Linked DNA regions of Homo sapiens: regions 1, 2, 3, 5, 6 and 7 are each linked to region 4. Evidence: promoter capture Hi-C in 16 types of primary human blood cells and fetal thymus (Javierre and others, 2016). All regions are on one chromosome and are shown on one strand. Each heading gives the region's core, a stretch centred on a gene start or on the middle of the fragment in contact. The rest is flanking DNA. Distances are from core to core; before and after follow the strand shown. Region 1 overlaps OMA1 (OMA1 zinc metallopeptidase). Region 2 overlaps OMA1 (OMA1 zinc metallopeptidase). Region 3 has its middle 12 kb from the start of OMA1. Region 4 holds the start of HOOK1 (hook microtubule tethering protein 1). Region 5 holds the start of PATJ (PATJ crumbs cell polarity complex component). Region 6 overlaps OMA1 (OMA1 zinc metallopeptidase). Region 7 overlaps OMA1 (OMA1 zinc metallopeptidase).

Region 1 (2,723 bases), core at 50-2,549, 1.3 Mb after region 4:
TTTCTCAGAAGTATTTTGATATAAAGCCCAGATATCAGGGCCTTATAGGGGAGGAGAAAATAATTTTCTCTCTATGCTTCATAGTTCTTAGTTGAGATGAACCCCTGTATTAAAAGACAGATTAACAAGAGGGAAATGGAAGCTTTTTAACATGTATACTTCCTGTATACCTGGGAGATACCCATGGAATGAATAATTCTCCAAGAGGTGGCTTTGAGTTCAGGTGTAAATACCATCTTCAACTGAAACTAAGACAGAAAGGTGCAGGGAAAGCCGCCACGTTGTAGAGAGGTGGTCAGGAAAAGCAGTGAGCAAGGGTAAGGTTTGTTATGTAGATTGTACCTTCTTTGTTGATAAGAGTTTCCAGTGATTTAGAGTCATCCTTCTCTTTCTGGTACAGAGAGGGAGACATACTTGCAAATTAGAGATTTCCTTCGTAGATACATATTTCTCTGAGAAAACGGTAACTTCTTCTTCCTGTTTTCAGAACTTCCCCTATGTCTGCTATTGCCCAAAATAATTAGTAGAAAATAACTCTTATGCTAAAGAGGCATATTTGGGGTGGCATAGTCTGGTCTCCTGGAGTCTTATTTTGGAATGATATGTCCTGAACTCCATCAACTTTAGTATGCATTTCAGAAAGTAGTATCATTTTCTTCCATAATCATAACATTATCATGCCTAAGGAAACTCATAGTAATTCCTTAAAATTAAATATTCTGTCTACATCAGATTTCTGTATCTCAGCAGTGTTACAGTTGGCCTGTTTAAATTAGGATACTTCATGATCCACACATTGCATTTGGTCCTTACGTCCCTAAAGTCCTTTTGACTTTAGGACAGTACCCCCCTCCCTTTTGTTTTGTTTGTTTTAAAACTTGTCATTGAATTGGTGAGTACATATAATCCCACATTGTAGATTCTGGATTAACTTGATTGCTTCTTCGTGGTATTTCTAACTTGTTTCTATATATACCTGTAAATAGAGATTAAATTTTGGGAAGGATATTTTATAGGTGATGCAACTAAGCTTCATAGTGCTTTGCATTGGAAGTCTCTTAATACCTGGCTGCCCCACATCTGGTGATGCTGAAGGCCATCAGTGGGTTGGATGGTGATGGCCTGGTTCTTTGTTTGCAAAGGTGGTTTTCTTCCTTGTGGCCAGCAAGTGATTGTGGGGTGATAATTTAGCACCACCCTGCAAATAATCAGTTTTCAAACAACCTGAGAAATGTGTCTTCACGAGAAATCTATGTAGAATCTATTTAGAACTCAGACCAGCCAAATTAACCCTAATGGAATAAAAGATGTTGCAGACACTTTTATCTTATTCAGGAATAGACTTAAGAGGTAGGTAAGAGAGACTTTTAAAAAATCAGAACGGTAAGTGTACAAGAGTTGGAAAAACAGAGTTGAAAGGAAAAATGAGGATAATCTTATTTAAAAGATTATTGAATGTCTAAGTGCCTTTAATAACTCCACAAGGACCCTCATGTAAACAAAATTCAGCAATAGCAACAAAACAAAGCCTCTGAAATGCTCATTGTTCCCCAGTGAGATAAGCTTTAAAGAGCAGAAATACGAAAAACAAAACCAAATCTCAAGTCAAACTTAAAAATGTTACTTTATGGGAGAGGACAGGCAAGGCGGCAAGAACATAGAAGCAGTGCCACCTGAAGCTGGCATGATAAGGTTGATTTAACTGCACTGAAAGTGACAGAATCTGAAAGAACGACTTTACAAATGTAAGATAAATCCATTTCAGAAAATTGTTAAACTTGTGAATTCAACAGAGAAGCTGTAAAACTTTCGGTGGAGGCTGTAAAGAGCAGAATTGATACCTCAGAGCAAAGACTCATTGATGCGGAAGATAGAGGAACATAGCACAACCAAATTAAAATGCCCAAAGCCAAAAAAAAAAAGTCTAAAAAAATGAAAGAATATTGAAAAGGCACCAGGAAATCCAAGCTGCATATAACAATGGGAAAGATACATTTGTACATGTCTTCATTTCTTTGATTGTGGTTTCTATATCATATTTTTTTATTTAGTTAACATTTCTCAAGATGGGTTTTTAGGAGATTCCCAGAGTATCATCCATGGGAAGCCCTGAAATGACAAGCTTAGATATTTAAACTTATGAAGTGTTTAATCTTCATTGCAAAGACAGGCTTTTACAAGCTACCTAGGTAAAAAGGCATACAAGAGTAAGAATGACTCTGGACCTTTCTTTTCATAAGCATAAGGAAGATATTTCTTTCCTCCTAAGTTCTTATACTTCTTGCTGTTGGAGGAAGTGTAAGAGTTTTGGAGGAAAGAAACAAAACAAAAAACAGTGGAACTAATACACTTTGGTATGATATCTACAAAAACTAACTTTTTTTTTTTTTATGGTGGAAGATCCTTAGCAAATGAAACACATAGGACAATATGTCAGTGAAGTTCTTGGTTGCAACAGTGCTCTTTCCAGAATCTACTGACAATCAGGAATTAGATAAAATATACAGTTTTGTTTGTTTAAATATAATTGTAACTAGCTTGCACCCTGCCATTGTTAGAAAACCACAGATCAAGTAAGGAACTACCAAAAAATTCAGCTGAATAATATGAAAAATAAAATTTAAGTGGCATGAGAAACTAAATCCTAAAAAAAGGAATGTATTATTATTATTATTATACTTTAAGTTTTAGGGTACATGTGCACAACATGCAGGTGTGTTACA
Region 2 (2,700 bases), core at 97-2,596, 1.3 Mb after region 4:
TATTATCATCAATTTTACCCAAGACTGTATCAGTTATGTATATCTTTTTTCAGTATATTCAGTCATCTATGTTCTGCAGTTTTTCTTGAAAAAAATCTCTCATAGAGCCTTTTTAAATCTGAATGATTCTCCGGTCTGCTAGAGTTTAACTGAAACCATAGATGTATCTCTAAGATTTGTTTACCCTCAAAACAGCATTAGGGCAGTTGTTACAGATTATTAATACTATTGTTGTTGTTTTTAAAATAATACTATTTGACCAAATCATGAAAACAACTGTTCACTGTAGATTTTTCAGTGGTTCTCTTTTATGTGTTATAATCAAGATACCTTTTATTAAAAAAATAACAATACATTCTTTGTTTTACATGGAGCATATTAGGGATTACTGAAACAATCTGAATACATTGATGTATATATATAGTATTTTTTTATTTTATTATTTCTTTATAGGCTCTCAAAATTAGAGAGATGTGTAATTGTCCACCACTGTCTAATCCAGACCCTCGATTACTATTCAAACTCAGCACGAAGCATTTTCTTGAAGAATCAGAGAAAGAAGACCTAAATATCACGAAGAAACAGAAAATGGATACTCTTCCTATTCAAAAACAGGAGCAAATACCATTAACATACATAGTTGAGAAAAGAACGGGCAGTTGAATTAAAATTTATGAGACACAAGATATATGAAGAATGTTGCAGTCCTTATCATTTTATGTTACTTTTTAAAAAATGATGTTTGAAGTGAAAAAAAAAAGGATATTCAGGGTCAAATCATGTACATTACAGATATTATCTAAATTCTTCTAGAATTTATTTTTCATGAAATATTGATGTATTTTAATCTATGTTAAAATATCTTCAATGAGGAAAATGTCACAGAATAAATTTATATTACACATTTTACTCTGTCTTCTACTTGCTTTTGATTTAGAAGGCAGACCCCTAGTGGATGAGAAATGAGCCCATACGGTAGTTTTTATAGTAGAGAATGTTTCAACTGAGCCTAAACTGGATTTCTAAGTCTGGGTCGTTATGATGAAGGGGGAAACAGTCTGAAGGTATCTGTTTGCAGGAAATAGTTTGCATTGGGGTGGGATTATGTGGAAAAGGGGGCCTCAGGATAGAGAATTTCCTTGTCTTCACCTGTGGATGACTGGAGAAAATGCTACTGGCAGAAGCCATTTTCATAGGGAGGCAAAAGAAGTACAGTTTGTGGTTCAGATGACAAAGCAAGAAACAGAATTGGGGGAGAGGGCATTTCCACAGAGATACAGCGTGTTCCTGGTGCACTGAAATCTTAACAGAAGTTTATGTCATTTGGTTGCTCCATGAGATTACCATTTGGGAATCTCGGGTTCCCAGAGAAGAAAAAGAGGCAAAGGCAAGGCACTGTCCCTCAAAAGAGGCTGAGGCAAGGCACTGTCCCCAAGTTGACCTTCCTGAGCAGCAGATATCAACAAGACGACTGGAGGAAAACGACAAGAGAAGCAGCACAAGACATACCCCCAGTGGTGCCCAGAAATTGCTGCATTATATAAATGTGGAAATACGAGTTATTTAATATTTGTATTCCCAAACTAGTGAAGTCTAGTGATGCTTAGGTTATATTTCTAAGAAGGGCATTTTTCTTGAAATACATTATATTAAATAAATATTTTCTTAGAGAATTAAAGAGGAAAGGGACTACTTTGTATTGTGAATCTACTATGAACTGGGCCCTATATTTATCTTTATTCCATAACCCTACTAGGTTTTATTATTCTCACTTTACAATGACAAATAGGCTTCGAGAAGTTACATAATATATCCAATATCTCTCACCTAGATAGAACAAAGCTGAGTCTATCTGACTACAAATCTGTCCATTTTTTTACAACTCTCAGATATCTAAGACTAAGCTATCAAGACAAGGAACAAAGTATTCTCAGTTGTTCATTAGCTTCCCCACATATGGCTTCAATATAAGTAAAAATCTCATCATTATGAAATCAGGGACCACTTGTGTTTTCTGTAGGTTGATTTTATAGGTTCTTCTCTCAGACCCTTCTATCAAAATTGACATGAAAAGCATAGATGAGGCAGTGTAGGAGAGTAGAACCTCTCCCCCTGCCTGTGAAAGCCTGTGAAATCTCATTTGGGATGTGTCCTGACATTATTAAATCTTCTTGGACAAAATATCTAGTTGTTAAGAAGATAAGTTCAGAGGCTGTTTATGTTTCTCAGGGATTATTATACATTACTTGTAAGGAATTTCCTGATCTGCACACGAGACAACATTGGTCATGAAGAGGTTCATATTAACTATTCTCCATATAATCATTTTTTACACTCCTTGTGATTGGAGTATTGTAAAAGGCACTCCATAACATATAAAGACACTTGGAGAATGTCACCTAAAGGTAAACAGTAAAACACAGCATTAGATTTTCCTGCAGATTTCCTAGGAAAATAATGTAGCAACGGCCTACTTTTTCTTCCATTCCCATTGTCACTTCTAATTGTGTTGTTCATACTTGCTAGAAACATATATAAGTTGACACCATGTCAGAAAGAGCAGAGATAATATCTTTATAGTATATGAAAAAGATTTTTTTTAACCAGTGGAATTAAATGTAAAAGAAATGTTACAGTTCAGCTCAATGCTTTAGAAGAAATTAAATAGCAGTTGAAATACAAGATGTATATATATACTTT
Region 3 (3,018 bases), core at 91-2,590, 1.3 Mb after region 4:
ATATGCATTTATGTTTCTCCTATGCCTTTTTCTTTTAAAACTTTATTTATTTATTTATTATTTTATTTAGTGATGAGGTCTCATTATATTGCCCAGGCTGGACTTGAACTCATGGGCTCAAGTCATCCTCCCACCTCAGCCTCTCAAGCAGCTGGGACTACAGGCATGTGCCACCACACCCAGCCTTTCATGTCTTTTCATGGCTTAATAGCTTATTTCTTTTTATTGCTGCATAATATTCCATTGTCTTGATGTACTGCCGCTTTTTTTATCCACTCACCTACTGAAGGACATCTTTATTGCTTCCAAGTTTTGGCATTAAGTCTGCTATAAACACCTGTGTGTAGGTTTTTGTGCAGGCATAAGTTTTCAATGTCTTTGGGTAACTATCAGGGAGTGCAAGTGCTGGATCATTGATAAAAAGTAGTATGTTTAGTTTGGTAAGAAGCTGGTCTTTCAAAGTGGCTGTACCATTTTTACATTCTTACCAGCAATGAATGAGAATTCCAGTGGCTTCACAGCCTCACCAGCATTTGATGTTATCAGTGTGCTGCCTTTTGGCCATTCTAATAGGTGTGTAGTGGTATCTCGTTGTTTTAATTTGCATTTTCCTGGTGACATATGATGTAGGGCATCTTTTTATATGCTTATTTATCATCTGTATTTCTTCTTTGATGAGATATTTGTTAAGGTCTTTGACCCATTTTTAATCAGATTTTTTTGTGTGTTTATGTTGTTGAGTTTTAAGAGTTATTCACATATTTTGAATAACATTTTAAAAATAGGTATTTTTTTGCAAATACTTTCCCCAGTCTGTCACTTTTCTTTTAACTCTCCTGACAGTATCTTTTTCAGGGCAGAAAATTTTAATTTTAATAAAGTCCATTTTATTAATTGTTTTTTACATAGATCATGCCTTTGGTGTTGCACTTAAAAAGTCATTGCTGGCTGGGCTCAGTGGCTCATGCCTGTAATCCCAGCACATTGGGAGGCTAAGGAGGGTGGATCACGAGGTCAGGAGATCGAGACCATCCTGGCTAACACGGTGAAACCCCGTCTCTACTAAAAATACAAAAACTTAGCCTGGCGTGGTGGCAGGTGCCTGTAGTCCCAGCTGCTCGGAAGGCTGAGGCAGGAGAATGGCAAGAACCTGGCAGGCGGAGCTTGCAGTGAGCCAAGATGCCACCACTGCACTCCAGGCTGGGTGACAGAGCAAGACTTTGTCTCAAAAAAAAAAAAAAAAAGTCATTGGCAAATGCAAGGTCATCTAGATTTTCTCCCAGGCTGGAGCAACACCGTGAGAAAATCTATTTTTATACTTTTGCATTTTACAATGCAAAATGGAGTCTTTTGGTTTTGCATTTTACATTTACATCCGTAATCCATTTTTAGTTAATTTTTGTGAAGAGTGTAAGGTCTGTGTCTAGATTCGTTTTTTTTTTTTCTGTTTGTTTGTTTTTTGGTATGTGGCTATCTAGTTGTTCCAGCACCATTTTTTGAAAAGATTATCTTTTCTCCATTGTATTACCTTTGCTTCTTTGTCAAAGATGAGTTGACTATATCTATATGGGTCTAATTCTGGACTCGGACTCCCTTTTCTGTTCCTTTGGTCTATTTGTCTCTTCTTTTGCCAGTACAGCACTGTCTTGATTACTGTAGTTTCATAGTAAGTCTAGAAGTCTGGTAGTGTCAGTTCTCTAATTTTGTTCACTTTTAATATTGTCTTGGCTACTCCGGCGTCTTTGCTTTTAGAATTAGTTTGGCAATATCCACAAAATAACTCGATGAGAGTTTCATTGAAATTACATTGACTCTATAGGTCAAGTTGGGAAGAACTGACTGACAATATTATGTCTTCCCATCCATGAATAACAGAATATCTCTTATTTAGTTCTTGATTTCTTTCATTAAAATTGTGCACTTTTTCTCATATAGATCTTATACTTAAAAAGAAAAATTTATACCTAAGTATTTCATTTTGAGTGATGCTAATGTAAATGGTATTGTGTTTTTAATTTCAGACTTCACTTGTTTATTGCTGGCATGTAGGAAAGTAGTTGACTTGCATATTAATCTTGTATCCTGCAACCTTGCTTTAATTGCTTATTAGTTTCAGGAGGGTTTTTTTCTCTTTTTGGTTAATTCTTTTGGATTCTGTCTTTAGATGAACATGTCATCTACAACAAAGACAGTTTTATTTCTTCCTTCCCAATCCATATACCTTACATTTCTTGTTCTCATTGTATTGCATTAGTTTTGACTTCTAGTACAAGGTTGCAAAGCAGTGGTGAGAGGTGACATCCTTGTCTTGTTCCTGATTTTAGTGGGAAAGCATCTAGTTTTTCACCATTAAGTATGACGTTAGCTGTAGGCTTTTTGTAGAGATTCTTTACCAAGTTTAGGAAGTTTCCCTCTGTTCCTAGTTTACTGAGAGGTTTTTGTTTTTATGACTAGACATAGGATTTTGTCAAACGCTTTTTCTGCATGTATTAATACGATCATGTGACTTTCCTTCTTTAGCCTGCTGATGTGATAAATTACATTAATTGATTTTTAAGTGTTGACCTATGAATATCTAGAATAATTCCCATTTGGTCGTGCTATAAGAATCCTTTTATACATTGTTGTATTCAATATGGTGGCATTTTTTTGAGGAATTTTGCATTTATGTTCATGAAAGATATTTGCTGATATATTTTATTTTCTTATATCTTTGTCTGGTTTTGGTATTAAGGTAATGCTGGCCTTATAGAATGAGTTAGGAAGTATTCCTTTGTTTCTATCTTCTGAAACAGATTGTAGAGAATTAGTATAATTTCTTCTTTAAATGTTTGGTAGAATTTACCATTAAATCCACCTGGGTCTGGGGTTTTCTGTTATGGAAGATTATTAATTATTGGATCAGTTTCCTTAATAGATATAAGCTTATGCTGATTGTCTATTTCTTAATATCTTCATCTGCTCTTCACTTCATTTCATTTTCTAGGCCAGCTTTTTCCTCATCTTGGCCAAAATGCA
Region 4 (2,700 bases), core at 187-2,686:
CCCAATACCTATTTCAAATGAAAATTCAGCTGAACAGTTAGCTAATTGCTTTTAACTCACAAACCCTAAATATTTGCATTCCACTAAAAGCAAAAGTTATTTACTTACAAAGTGTAAATGCTTTAAATTATGGCTATTTCCAATAGGCTTCACACATTTCCATAAACCTAGATTTCTCATTCTTTGGAATTAGATGCATTAGATCACTAGGGAATCTCAACCGATTACAGCCTCCTGATCCCGTCTGTTTACATTCCATCTGCACACACTCCCCTAGACGCAACTAAACAACTGGTTTGGGATGAGCATCATCAACAGCACCTTGTGGCTCATCAAACACCATCTTTACTCAATATGGGTTAAGAACCACACCTGAATGCCAGCACTGATATCTAAGTAACTCTAAGAGGTGGGATGTCATTTTGCTGACTGGAATATTGAACAATCTGGGGACAGATATGCCTGTCCAGACCCAACACAAATTAACAAAAATCCTAAACACAGATAAATCCTAAAGAAAAATGTCAACTCATTTTCTTTAAAGAAAATGCTGTCCATTTAGAGGAGGAGAGGGCCAGCGAGAAAAAGGGAAAACGACCCCCGACTCCCAACACATCTTTTTCTCCATACGGGAAATACAAACATCTCTTTGAAGCGGCTTCTACAAAATCGGATGTTCTAGAGTCCTGAAGGAGCATTGGTCCGGGAACTAAAACAGCCAGCCACCTCCTGGCCACCTGTGTCCAGGTAGAGCAAGGTAGTTTGAGGATGCAGGGTTAGGTTTCGGAAAGGGTCTTCACGCCCAAGCGGACCAAGGCAAGAGAGTCGGCGATCCAGAAAGTGGAGGGCTCGGGCGCTGTTCAGGGGGAGAAAATGGGGCAGCGGGGAGAAAAGAGGATGGGTGCTTGGTTCATATCCCAGCTGTTAGGGCACCAGGCAGGTCGAATCCTCTGGTTGAGACCAGAGCCTCCACTGTTACGCTCCCAGAGCTTCCTTTACCCCCACCCCCGGACACCAACCCGCGCCCACACACCTGCCCGTCGACCCGCAGGTGGCATTCTCTCGGTCAAGGGCACGAGGTGAGAAGGGCAGGGTGCGCCGGGACCCTGTGCAGGTAGCCCCAGCTCACCTGGGAGAACCGGGCGCCCCAGGCTCCTCGCCTCGGCCCCCTGGCCCCCTCGCCCTCTCGCCTCCTCGCACTCACCCAGATCATGAGGCTGTCGCACAGGGGCAGCTTAGGCTGCGGCGGCGGCTGCGTCTCCTCCATGGCCGGCGCCGCCGTCGACGACGCCGCGGACACCTTCACACTCCCTCCTACCGGCTCTCCTCCAGGAGCCGGCGTCCACGACCTGCTAGCCCCCAGGAAAGCTCGGTACCAGGCCCGACCCGCGCAGCTCACGCGCGAACCCTCGCGCTGTCGACGCGTCCGGCGTCACCCCCTCCTCACCCGCCCCCGCCTCGCTCCAGCGTTCGCCCCCTCCCCTTCCTGGGCCCCGGCCGCGCTGCCAGGCACCTGAGCCCCGCCTTCTCCCACCCCTCCCCTCCTCCCACCCGTCCTGCCCACTCCCGCACACCTCGCCCCGCCGCCCTGAGTGACCTGGCCGCGCACCAGTCACAGAGACGGTAGGTACCCGGGGGGGCGGGCGGGGCGGGGCGGGGGCGGGAAGAACCGGGATAGGTTGCGCAGGGGGGATTGCTGATTGGACGTGCCCTCGTGGGCTCTGGCCAATCAACGTGAGACAAGCCTGAGCCTTGGGTAGAGAGTGAGAGTGGGTGGGAAGAGGTTTATGACCTGGCAGGTGCAGTGAGGGCGGGGGTGGGAGGTTGCGCGCGGGAAGCGAGCGCGCGTGCGCGGCGGGGATTGGTAAGGCTGAAGCTCAGCCCCAGTGGCCGAAGAGGCAGAGGGGCAGCAGGGCACCGGCTGGGCTCAGGCGTCTTCCCTCCTTCTTCGCGGTAGCACGCCGCCTCGCTACACCTGTGGAGGGCCCACACTCTGCTTCCACATTGTCTTCAGAAATAGATCCTACCGGCTGGGCGAGGTGGCTCACGCCTGTAATCCTAGCACTTTGGGAGGCTGAGGCGGGTGGATCACCTGAGGTCAGGAGTTCGAGACCCGCCAGGCCAAGATGGCGAAACCCATTCTCTACTAAAAATACAAAGATTAGCCGGGGGTGGTGGCACATGACTGTAATCCCAGCTACTCAGGAGGCTGAGGCAGAAGAATCGCTTGAACCCGGGAGGCACAGGTTGCAGTGAGCCGAGATCATGCCACTGCACCCCAGCCTGGACAAAAAACCGAGACTCTGTCTCTAAAAAATATATAAAACAAAATAAAGAAAGAAAGAAATAGATCATACCCATGAATTAAAACTCTTCGAGGAAGGAAGAGCTGATTTCCTCCTAGGCACTCATTGGAAAGGGATGTTTTCATTTGCACACGTGGCAAATATGCCACATTAATAAGGAAAATAGAATCCGTCAGTGCTCCTTAAATAAGCTCTCACGGGACCATAGATCATGAGCAATTTTATTTTACATGGGGCAAAAGGGAAGACCGTTTTCAAGTAGCAAAATAAACGAAATGTTTTGAAAAACATGGAAGATATTAATGTATCCATTTTCCTTTGTCAGTTGAAAATTTGCTTTTTCCGAGAATGTTGTGGGGTGGAGGGGGGTCGGGGGAGGTGACCTGAAATTGGA
Region 5 (2,912 bases), core at 413-2,912, 1.9 Mb before region 4:
AGACAGCCATGTTGCTCAGGCTGGTCTCCAACTCTTGGCCTCAAGCGATCCTCCTGCCTAAGCCTCCTAAGTAGCTGAGATAACAGGCATGAGGCAGGTTGCCAGGCCTGATAAGATGCTCTCCATAACACCTGCCCAGTAATGGCATCTTCAACAATGGCCAACTCTGGCTTTCAGTCTGCAAAACCAATAAACTCTGTTTTCACGCAGCTTATCTGCACTTACTTTGCCAATAAAAGTTTCCTTTTACCCTCCCCTCTTCCATGCATATATGGCTTGCCAGGCCTGTGCACCTCGGGCTATAACGCTCATTTCTCATTCCCAAATAAATTCAACACATTTGGAGTGTTTTGTTGTTGTTGTTATTGTTAACATCTTAAAGGCCATTAGGGGCCCTAAAAACATCAAAGCTCACTTTAGCTAAAAGGCTCAATCTCACCTAACATTTTCTAATGCTGCAAACAGATTTAAGTTTTTAACCGCTGCCCCTGCCTCCACTCCTTTCAAATAGATGTGTGCAAATTAATTTGCAGCCAATAGGAATTTAGCCCAGAATGTGGTAGTATCATCCTCAGTGGAACCGACATTGTCCTTCTGGGTTTCCAAAGGCTTCTGCCTTCCTTTAAGAAACACTTGTCGCGCACCTACCAATAGCCAGACCCTAAATGCAGTCGAAAAATAAGGCCCTGAAAGGGGCACCCTCTAAATGGCAGAGGCAAGCCAGTAAACAACCAACTGGAATTCAAAGTGACAAGAGCCACTTGGAAATATGACAAAGTGCCAAGTGAAGGGGTGTTCACTTAATTCGGCCTGCGTGCGGGACGGCTGGGGCGCTTTGGAGAGTGGGAGTGATCTGAAAATGCTTTCCTGAGCTTGATTTAAAAGCAGGAGTCCAGGAATTTCCCCTAAGGCTGGAAGCACTTTCCGACAGAACCTCCCCATCTACGCAGCAAGGCTGGCAGAGCCCAGGGCCTGACCGCTGGCTTGGGAACCTCCGCTACGGGATGACCAGGCGCCGCGACGCGGCCGGGCCCAAGTCGCCCCCTCAGCCCGGCTCTGAGCACCCCCTCCTCTTTGTCCCCTCACCCCGTTCCCTCCTTCCACGGCCACCGATGGAGGGAAAGACTCCGCCCAGCTCTGGGAGCGAAACAGGGGCACCGATCTGGGCGCAAAATAGGATCCGTGCCACCCCCGAATACCAGTGGGCCGAGATTCGAGGCCCGAAAGGCCTGGGGAGGCGGGGCGGCGCCCCTCCCTGCCCGCGGCCTCGGCGAGCCCTGCGCGGCGGGGCGGGGACCACCGTGGGGTCACCCGGGCCCGACGCAGGAGGACGGCGCCCCCGCCCCGCCTCCCGGGTCAGCGCGGACGCACGCCGCGGGCGCCCCATCCTCGCCGCGGCCCCTCTGAGCGCCCGGCGGCGCCCTCCACCTCCGGCTCCCACCCACTCCAGGCGGGCGGGCGGGGAGAGCGCGGGGGCAGGGCAGGCAGGCCCGGGAAGCCCCGAGGGAGCTGCCCCCGGCCGGCCTCCAGGCGCGGGGACACCCAGGGGCGAGCGCGCACTGCACAGCCGGGACCTCACGCTTTACCTGGTGCGCTGGAGGAGCAGGTGGGAGCCCGGGTCGGGCGGGCTCGGTGTCGGCCCTGCCTCACCTGGGCGGAAGTGAGAGGCCCAGGGTGACCGCGCCTCACCTGGCAGGCCCTCCCCTCGCCCCGACTCTCCCCGCCCGGGGCGGGGCACCGGGGTGGCGCAGGGGGCGGGGGAGGGAGCCCGGGGCCGCGGGAGGCGGGCTCCAAGGAGGGAGGACGGTTGCCCTGGCTGTTTACGTGCAGGTGAATTCCTACCGGGCGCGGGATGGCCAAGGGCCTGGGAAAAGTGGGCTGTGGGGGCGGGGTGGCGGATCAGACCGCGCGTGGTGGGGACAGCCGCCACTGACGGGGAGGGAGATCCGGACAGACCGGTGTGGTTGGAGGCCTGCGTGTAGAGCGAGACCCAAGATCAAGGAAATTGAGGAGGATATCGATGAAAGCGTTGGGTCAATCCGCTTAACACTTTGTCTTTTTGCCCCTTTCCTTTCCTGTTCTCTCATCCCTCCTTTGTTTTCTCTATTCGCTGACGCAAAATAAAATATTCTAAAACGTGTAAATGTGGGAGTCATTATTTTCTTCTCATTTAGTGGAAGAAAGAAATCCAGCAGTATTTGCCTGCTGTATGCTAGGTGCTAGCTTATGCAATGTCTCATTTACTCTCTGAAGAAACTAATGAGGAAACCGTGCACCCTGTAGGTTGACTGGCCCAAAGTTTGGAACACAGGCAAGGCATTTTGACTCTAACTACAGTGATGATTTCACTATACGTTAATTTTCTTTTATTTGTGATGTCACACCTTCGAGAAAAATATGTCCCGATAGCCTTCTTCCACTCCCTTTAATAACTTTAGGCTTTTGATGATAGGGGTTTTACTTTGCCTGATACAGTCCACACATTAACGATAAAGAGAATCAATCTTCAGGTATCTTATTCATAGAGTACATACAGTAATTGTTAAACACTGTGATTGATTGTGGGAAGATGTGTAAAATGGTATCCCTGTCCCCAGGAAGATGAGGAATAGATACAAAACAACTACAACATAAAGACTTTCAGGCGGGGCGCGGTGGCTCACGCTTGTAATCCCAGTACTTTGGAAGGCCGAGGCGGGTGGATCACCCGAGGTCAGGAGTTCGAGACCAGCCTGACCAATATGATGAAACCCCGTCTCTACTACAAATACAAAAATTAGCCGGGTGTGGTGGATGCGTAGTCCCCTCTACGCAGGAGGCTGAGGCAGGAGAATCACTTGAACCCAGGAGGCAGAGGTTGCAGTGAGCCAAGATCCTGCCACTGCACTCCAGCCTGGGTGACAGAGAGAGAC
Region 6 (2,838 bases), core at 213-2,712, 1.3 Mb after region 4:
AATATCCTAAGATTTAAAAAAATTATGTATATATATTAAATTTTATCAAATGCATTTTCTGCACTTTTTCTTCAACTTTAAAGTTCCAGGGTACATGTGCAGATGTGCAGGTTTGTTACATTAATAAATATGTGTCACAGTGGTTTGCTGCACAGATCAACTCATCACCTAGGTATTAAGCCCAGCATCCATTAGCTATTCTTCCTGATGTTCTCCTTCCCCCTGCATTTTCTGCCTGTATTGAGATGATTATATGATTTTTCTCCTTTAATCTGTTATTGGGCAAATTACATTAATTTTTTTTAAAGTTAAGTTGCATTTTTGGGGAAATATACCTAATTTTGTCAATTATCCCTTAATATATTGCTAGAATTGGTTTAATGCTTAGTTTAGAATGTTTATCCTATGTTCAAAGGAGATAGTCGCCTAGAATTTTCTTTTCTTGTAATGTCCTGTCAGGTTTTGGAATCAAAGTTATGCTGGCCTCATAAAATTGATCAGGGAAGTGTTCTTCATTTTCTCTTCTCCAGAAGAGTTTTTGTAAGATTAGCTATATTTATTTTTTAAACGTTTGGAGAATTCCTGGGTAAAGCCATATGGGCCTGAAGATTTCTTCATGAGTTTGTCTTTAATTATGGATTCAGTCTCTTTAATAGATATAGAACTATTCAGATTTTTCTATTTCTTGTTTCAGTTTTTGTAGTTTTTCTAGGAATTTTTGTTTAATTTTCAAAATCATTGGCATGAAGTTGTTTTAATATACTCTTATTATATTTTAATGTCTGAAGGATACCTGTTATTTTACATGTATCTTTTAAATGTCCCCTTTGTTAATATTGGTGCTCTTTGTCTTGTCTTTTTTTTGCTAGATTTTATCACTTTCATCAATCTTTTCAAAACCATCTTTTGGGTTTGCTTATTGTCTCTATTATATAATTGTTTTCTGTTATGTCAGTTACCATTTTTTTTCATTATTTTATTCTGCATTCATTTTTTGGGTTTCATATGTGGTTCTTTCCCTAACTTAAGATGAATACTACTATCATTTATTTTAAACTCTTTTTTTTTTCTAGTACATACATTTAAGGCCGTACATTTTCCTCTGAGAGCATCTTTACTTGTCATGTTGCAAGGGTTGATATGTTATTTTTTCTTCAGTTTAAAATGTATTCTTGTTTTCGCTGTGGTTTCTTCTTTGACCCATGGGTTATTTAGAAGTATATTGCTTAGTTTTTGAACATTTGATGATTTTAAAGTTACCTTTTGTTTTCGATTTCTAGCTTAGTTACACTCTGATTGGATAATATACTGAATGACTGGAATCCTTTGAAAAGGGTTGGGTCTTGCTTTGTGGCTCAGGATGTGATCAATTTTGTCAAAATGACGTGCACTTGAAAGTGGATCCTGCCATTGCGGGTGGTGTTCTGTGGATGTCAGTTTTGCCAAGTGTGTCAATTTTGTTGTTTCAGATCTTCTATATTCTTGCTGATTTTTTTTCCTTTTTTTTGTAGTTATCAAGAGAGGTTTGGTAATATTTCATTATGGTTGTAGATTTTTCTTTTTTCCTTTTAGGGCTATTAATTTTTGCCGTGTACATCTTAAAAGTATCTTTAATATACATACTTGTTAGATTGTTAGATTTTCCTAGTGGATTGGTCCTTTTCTTGCAATAAAATCACTGTCTCTAGTAATACTTCTTGCCTAATGTCCACTTTTTCCTTTTAGTATTGTTATTTCAGCTTTCTTTCAGTTAGTGCTTGCATGGTAAATCTTTAATATTCTGATTTTCAAACCTCCTGTGTTCTTGTGTGTGTAGCCCTTGTAAACAGAACATTGCTGTTGTTTTTATCTTTGCCCTTTTTTGGGGAAAAGTTAGTCTATTTGTTTAATTTGCATTTCTTATTTGTAATTATTTATATAATGTGGAACATTTTTATGTGTCTATTGGCACTTCATTTATATTCCTTTGTGAATTATCTTCTCAGATATTTTTCCCATTTTCAAATTGGGCAAGGAAGTTTGTGTTCTTATTCTTGAGTTGTAGGAGTTTTTCACATAAGTGCTAGGTGCAAGTTCTTTGTCAGATATGTGTCTTGCAAGTGTTTTCTTTCATTCTGTGGCTTGCTCTTTTATTTTTTATTTTTTTCAACGTTTAGGTTCCAGGGTACACGTGCAGGTCTGTTACGTGGGTAAATTGCACGTTGCTAAGATTTGGTGTACAAATGATCCTCTCCCCGAGGTAGTGAGCATGGTACCCAAAAGGTGGTTTTTCAACCCTTGCTCCCCTCCTTCCCCCTTCCCTCTGGTAGTTGCCAGTGTCTGTTGTTCCCATCTTTGTGTCCATGTGTAGTCAATGTTTAGCTCCCCCTTATGAGTGAGAACATGCAATAGGCTAATCACTTAACCTCTGACTGTCCATGTATCAGAATGTGTTTTCCACTACCTATCTTGAAGTTCATTAATCTTATTTTTAGCTGTATTTGTTCTACATTAAATTCGTATTTGAGTTTTAAATTTCAGTTACTTTGTCTTTTCATTCCAGAATATCCCTTTGATGCTCTTTTATAAATTTCACTTCTCTGGTGAAATTCTCCATTTTGTCATATGTTTCTTTGTTTATATTTTCTTGAATATGTTAATCATATATTTTTTTAAAAATTCATGTTTCTTAACTCTAATCTCTGTATTATAGCTGGGTCCGTTTCTGTTGTCTGTTTTTGGCTTTGGTCTTGTTTGTTGGCATCGTTGCTTATTTTTGATTGAATGCTGGATGTTTCATATAAACAGTTCTGTTGGCTCTGAATGATATATTTTTTTTTTCCATCAGAGGTATTCTCT
Region 7 (2,873 bases), core at 95-2,594, 1.3 Mb after region 4:
TTCATTGCCAACATTTAAAAATTGATAAATTTCACCTAAAATCTGAAATTCTGGCTTTACTTAAAAGTTTTGAATCATTTGGCCACAGCAAGTTCAAATTCCATCATAACTGTTTGCACCTCCTTTAGATGGTCATGAATCTGCATTCACATCAGTATCACTTTGCTGATATTCACTTGCCTGGACCCTACAAACCTGTACTGTGCGATACAGTAGACACTAGCCACATATGGCCATTTAACTGAGTTAAAAATTTCATTCCTCAGATGCACCAGTCACATTTCAAATGCTCAGTAGCCACATGTAGGGGCTACCTTATTGGACAGTGCAGACATGAACATTTTTATCATTGTAGAAAGGTCTGTTGTATGGTGCTTCTTTAGACGTTTGAGTTTGCCACCTCTGTTATACAGAAGTTTTTAGGTAGCATTTATTATTATTTTTAAATTTGTATATCCCTTTGCCAGAGATTGCTATCTTTTAAATCTTTTAAAGATTTACAGATCATCATGTCATTTTTTAAATGATTACCTGGTATTTACCAGGGTAGGACTGTATGTTAATTGTCGGGGTAGGATTCTGTTGCCAGGGTTTGCATTTTAGAAATAATGCTTTAGCTCTAGTTTGGGGTCAAACTGTAGTGGGAGGGGTTAGTGGTGAAATAAGGCAGGGAGATTAGGTGGGTAGTGATCAACACCATAAGACCACAGAGCCCAGGAAAGGCTAGAATGAGATAAGAAGGAGGTAGAATTGACATGACTGATTTAATGTGGGCTGAGATATTTTGGATGCTAAAGTTGCTGTAGAGATAATCCAGTATTTCTGGAACTGATTAAATGTTGAAAATTGGTAAATTTGGCTTTGCAAAGTGTAGGAGGAACCCTCAGCTAGTTCCAGTAAACAACATGTATAATATTAAAATGCTGTCAATTTACAAAAACAAATGTATAACTGTTTTATACCATGTAAACGTCTTAGAGATCATTTATTTGCAGAATACAGAAACTCATTGAAGAAAGCGCATTATTTTGGGGATAAAGTAAAAGCTCATGAAGCTCAATTAAGTGTAGGAAGTACAATGGTTTCATGGGAATCAGGGAGGTCTTATTCTCTCATATTCACTCTGGCTTTGTGGTCTCTCACTTATCTTCTGTCTACACTTAATAGTCCATTGTCTTTTCTGTGGATCCACTTTTTTTTTTTTAAAAAAGCTTTTTGTTTGTAGTTCTTGCTTTCATATTGCTTTGTTTAGCCATAGCACCCGCTGTAGACCCAACTTACACATGCCCTTATATTCCTGTGCGGAATACTGTTTTATGTAAAATCTTTTCAGTATCAAATACCTACTCCTAGCTCTGTAGCTAATGGTAGGGGTTGCTAGGGATGAATGTGGCCGTCTAAGCCTGTCCCCTAAAATGAGGCTGTAAGATGCACATTTGGAAAAGGACTTGTGCTTGGGCAAGTGTCTGAAGCTTATCTACTACAGTAAATCATCAGATTTGAGGTCAAGGAAAGAAAGTGGGCTTGGGTTGTTTTTGCAGTTTGACTTCTAGAAGAAGACTTTACATTTAAACCTTAAAACACTTTCCCATTTAAAACAGTTCTTTCCATTTTTTTTTGTCTTTCTGCATCTGCCTAAATGGCATGAAAAATAATTGCTGCCTTCCTGAACTCTTCAGCTACTCATGGATGTCTTTTTAAGAATGCATACAGTATGTAGTATTTAATAACTGAATTTTATTATCCCCTAATAGTCTTACTTAGGTTCAGTTTTGTCTCCCCAACTAGATTATAACCTCCATGAGAGCAGGACTATATTCTGTGCTGCATAACTCTCATGGCCCCTAGCCAATGAAAACCTTACTAGCTACTCCAGTATGAATTGTGAAATGACTTCTAGGCTTAAATTATTTAACAATTTTTCAGCTTGGTTCAAAAAAGTAAAAACAAAGTATCTTGTTAATAATGTCAAACTATTATATATCAGCCTGGACTTTACTAATTTAAAATTGGTTGTATTTCAAAAAGGGTTAACTCAAAGTTAATGTTTTACTTAGCATGCCCTTTATTAACATTATACATTAACAGTGCAAGGGCAGGATGTATGAATTACATAAAAAATAAATTTGAGTAATTTTCAAATGGTTTGATATATAGATAATACTATTAAAACTGGTAGTCCTGGAGCATCTTTCTAGATAATATCGTATTAGCTTAGGTTGAAGTTTACATATTTTTTTCCCCAACTTTTATATGAAGATTTTGAAACATGCAGAAAAATTTAAGGAACACATATGTAACTATCACTGAGATACAATGATTGCTGATATTTTGTTTATTGACTTTATGTCCTTTGTGTGTGTACCTTTGCTGTACAATTTGAAAGTGAGTTTTATTTATCATGAACAGATCCTTCAGCAAGTATCTCAGGAATAAAATAGTCAGATAACCACAATATTATCACCTAAGAAAATAATAATTACCTAAAACAACTTGAAATTCAATTCATATTTAGATTCCCTCAATCTGGGTTTTTTTGTTTTTTGTTTTTGGTTTTTTTTTTTTTTTTTTTTTTTTTTTGACAGGTTCTCATTCTGTTGCCCACGCCGGAGTGTAGTGGCACAATTTTGGCTCACTGCAGTCTCTTGCCTCCCAGGTTCAAGTGATTCTCCTGCCTCAGCCTCCCAAGTAGCTGGGTTTACAGGCAAGCACCACTCTTTGTAATCCCTTCCCCTGCTGCTTTTTTCCTACAACTCCTCAAGCAGTCACTCATCTCTCTGTCACTATGGATTAGTTTGCATTTTTTGCAGTTTATATTATAGAGATGTAATCAGAGTATGTACTTTCTTGTGTTTTTCCTGTTTTTTTTTTTT

What was found. The method cuts DNA at HindIII sites, captures the fragments that hold promoters and counts their contacts. A CHiCAGO score of 5 or more calls a contact.
Region 1: a fragment that was not itself captured here is called in contact with the fragment with the promoter of HOOK1 in region 4 in 11 of 17 cell types (total B cells, M2 macrophages, naive B cells and 8 more); the score reaches 13.7 in total B cells.
Region 2: a contact is called between a fragment that was not itself captured here and the fragment with the promoter of HOOK1 in region 4, in 2 of 17 cell types (M2 macrophages and monocytes). The highest score is 8.2, in M2 macrophages.
Region 3: a fragment that was not itself captured here is called in contact with the fragment with the promoter of HOOK1 in region 4 in 6 of 17 cell types (non-activated CD4 T cells, naive CD4 T cells, naive B cells and 3 more); the score reaches 10.4 in non-activated CD4 T cells.
Region 5: the fragment with the promoter of PATJ here is called in contact with the fragment with the promoter of HOOK1 in region 4 in 8 of 17 cell types (non-activated CD4 T cells, activated CD4 T cells, naive CD4 T cells and 5 more); the score reaches 12.1 in non-activated CD4 T cells.
Region 6: a fragment that was not itself captured here is called in contact with the fragment with the promoter of HOOK1 in region 4 in 7 of 17 cell types (naive CD4 T cells, total CD4 T cells, naive CD8 T cells and 4 more); the score reaches 13.3 in naive CD4 T cells.
Region 7: a fragment that was not itself captured here is called in contact with the fragment with the promoter of HOOK1 in region 4 in 9 of 17 cell types (non-activated CD4 T cells, total CD8 T cells, total CD4 T cells and 6 more); the score reaches 18.4 in non-activated CD4 T cells.

What each region holds. Positions count from the first base shown.
Region 1 is chr1:58,495,369-58,498,091 of GRCh38, reverse strand. All of the region lies in intron 8 of OMA1 (OMA1 zinc metallopeptidase), which reads left to right. It also overlaps a transcript of DAB1 not described here. Among named protein-coding and RNA genes, the nearest start is that of OMA1, 50 kb to the left of the region's middle. The HindIII fragment of the contact is 533 bases long and covers 1,033-1,565 here.
Region 2 is chr1:58,478,928-58,481,627 of GRCh38, reverse strand. It overlaps OMA1 (OMA1 zinc metallopeptidase), which reads left to right. Exons shown (of 9, transcript NM_145243.5): 9 at 454-909. The coding sequence ends at 663. It also overlaps a transcript of DAB1 not described here. Among named protein-coding and RNA genes, the nearest start is that of OMA1, 66 kb to the left of the region's middle. The HindIII fragment of the contact is 6,288 bases long and covers 1-2,700 here.
Region 3 is chr1:58,557,501-58,560,518 of GRCh38, reverse strand. No RefSeq gene overlaps it. Among named protein-coding and RNA genes, the nearest start is that of OMA1, 12 kb to the right of the region's middle. The HindIII fragment of the contact is 3,173 bases long and covers 1-2,926 here.
Region 4 is chr1:59,813,685-59,816,384 of GRCh38, reverse strand. It overlaps HOOK1 (hook microtubule tethering protein 1), which reads right to left and starts at 1,436. Exons shown (of 22, transcript NM_015888.6): 1 at 1,205-1,436. The coding sequence starts at 1,267. It overlaps LOC105378758 (a long non-coding RNA gene), which reads left to right and starts at 1,519. Exons shown (of 5, transcript XR_947426.3): 1 at 1,519-1,623. RefSeq lists an enhancer at 569-1,132 and a silencer at 1,369-1,968. The HindIII fragment of the contact is 6,303 bases long and covers 1-2,700 here.
Region 5 is chr1:61,741,230-61,744,141 of GRCh38, reverse strand. PATJ (PATJ crumbs cell polarity complex component) reads right to left here and starts at 1,662. Exons shown (of 44, transcript NM_001350145.3): 1 at 1,587-1,662. It overlaps PATJ-DT (PATJ divergent transcript), which reads left to right and starts at 1,358. Exons shown (of 1, transcript NR_185910.1): 1 at 1,358-2,144. RefSeq lists a silencer at 1,201-1,910. The HindIII fragment of the contact is 6,850 bases long and covers 1-2,912 here.
Region 6 is chr1:58,519,560-58,522,397 of GRCh38, reverse strand. The region is part of intron 7 of OMA1 (OMA1 zinc metallopeptidase); the gene reads left to right. It also overlaps a transcript of DAB1 not described here. Among named protein-coding and RNA genes, the nearest start is that of OMA1, 26 kb to the left of the region's middle. The HindIII fragment of the contact is 3,020 bases long and covers 1-2,838 here.
Region 7 is chr1:58,541,322-58,544,194 of GRCh38, reverse strand. The region is part of intron 1 of OMA1 (OMA1 zinc metallopeptidase); the gene reads left to right. It also overlaps a transcript of DAB1 not described here. Among named protein-coding and RNA genes, the nearest start is that of OMA1, 4.0 kb to the left of the region's middle. The HindIII fragment of the contact is 261 bases long and covers 1,214-1,474 here.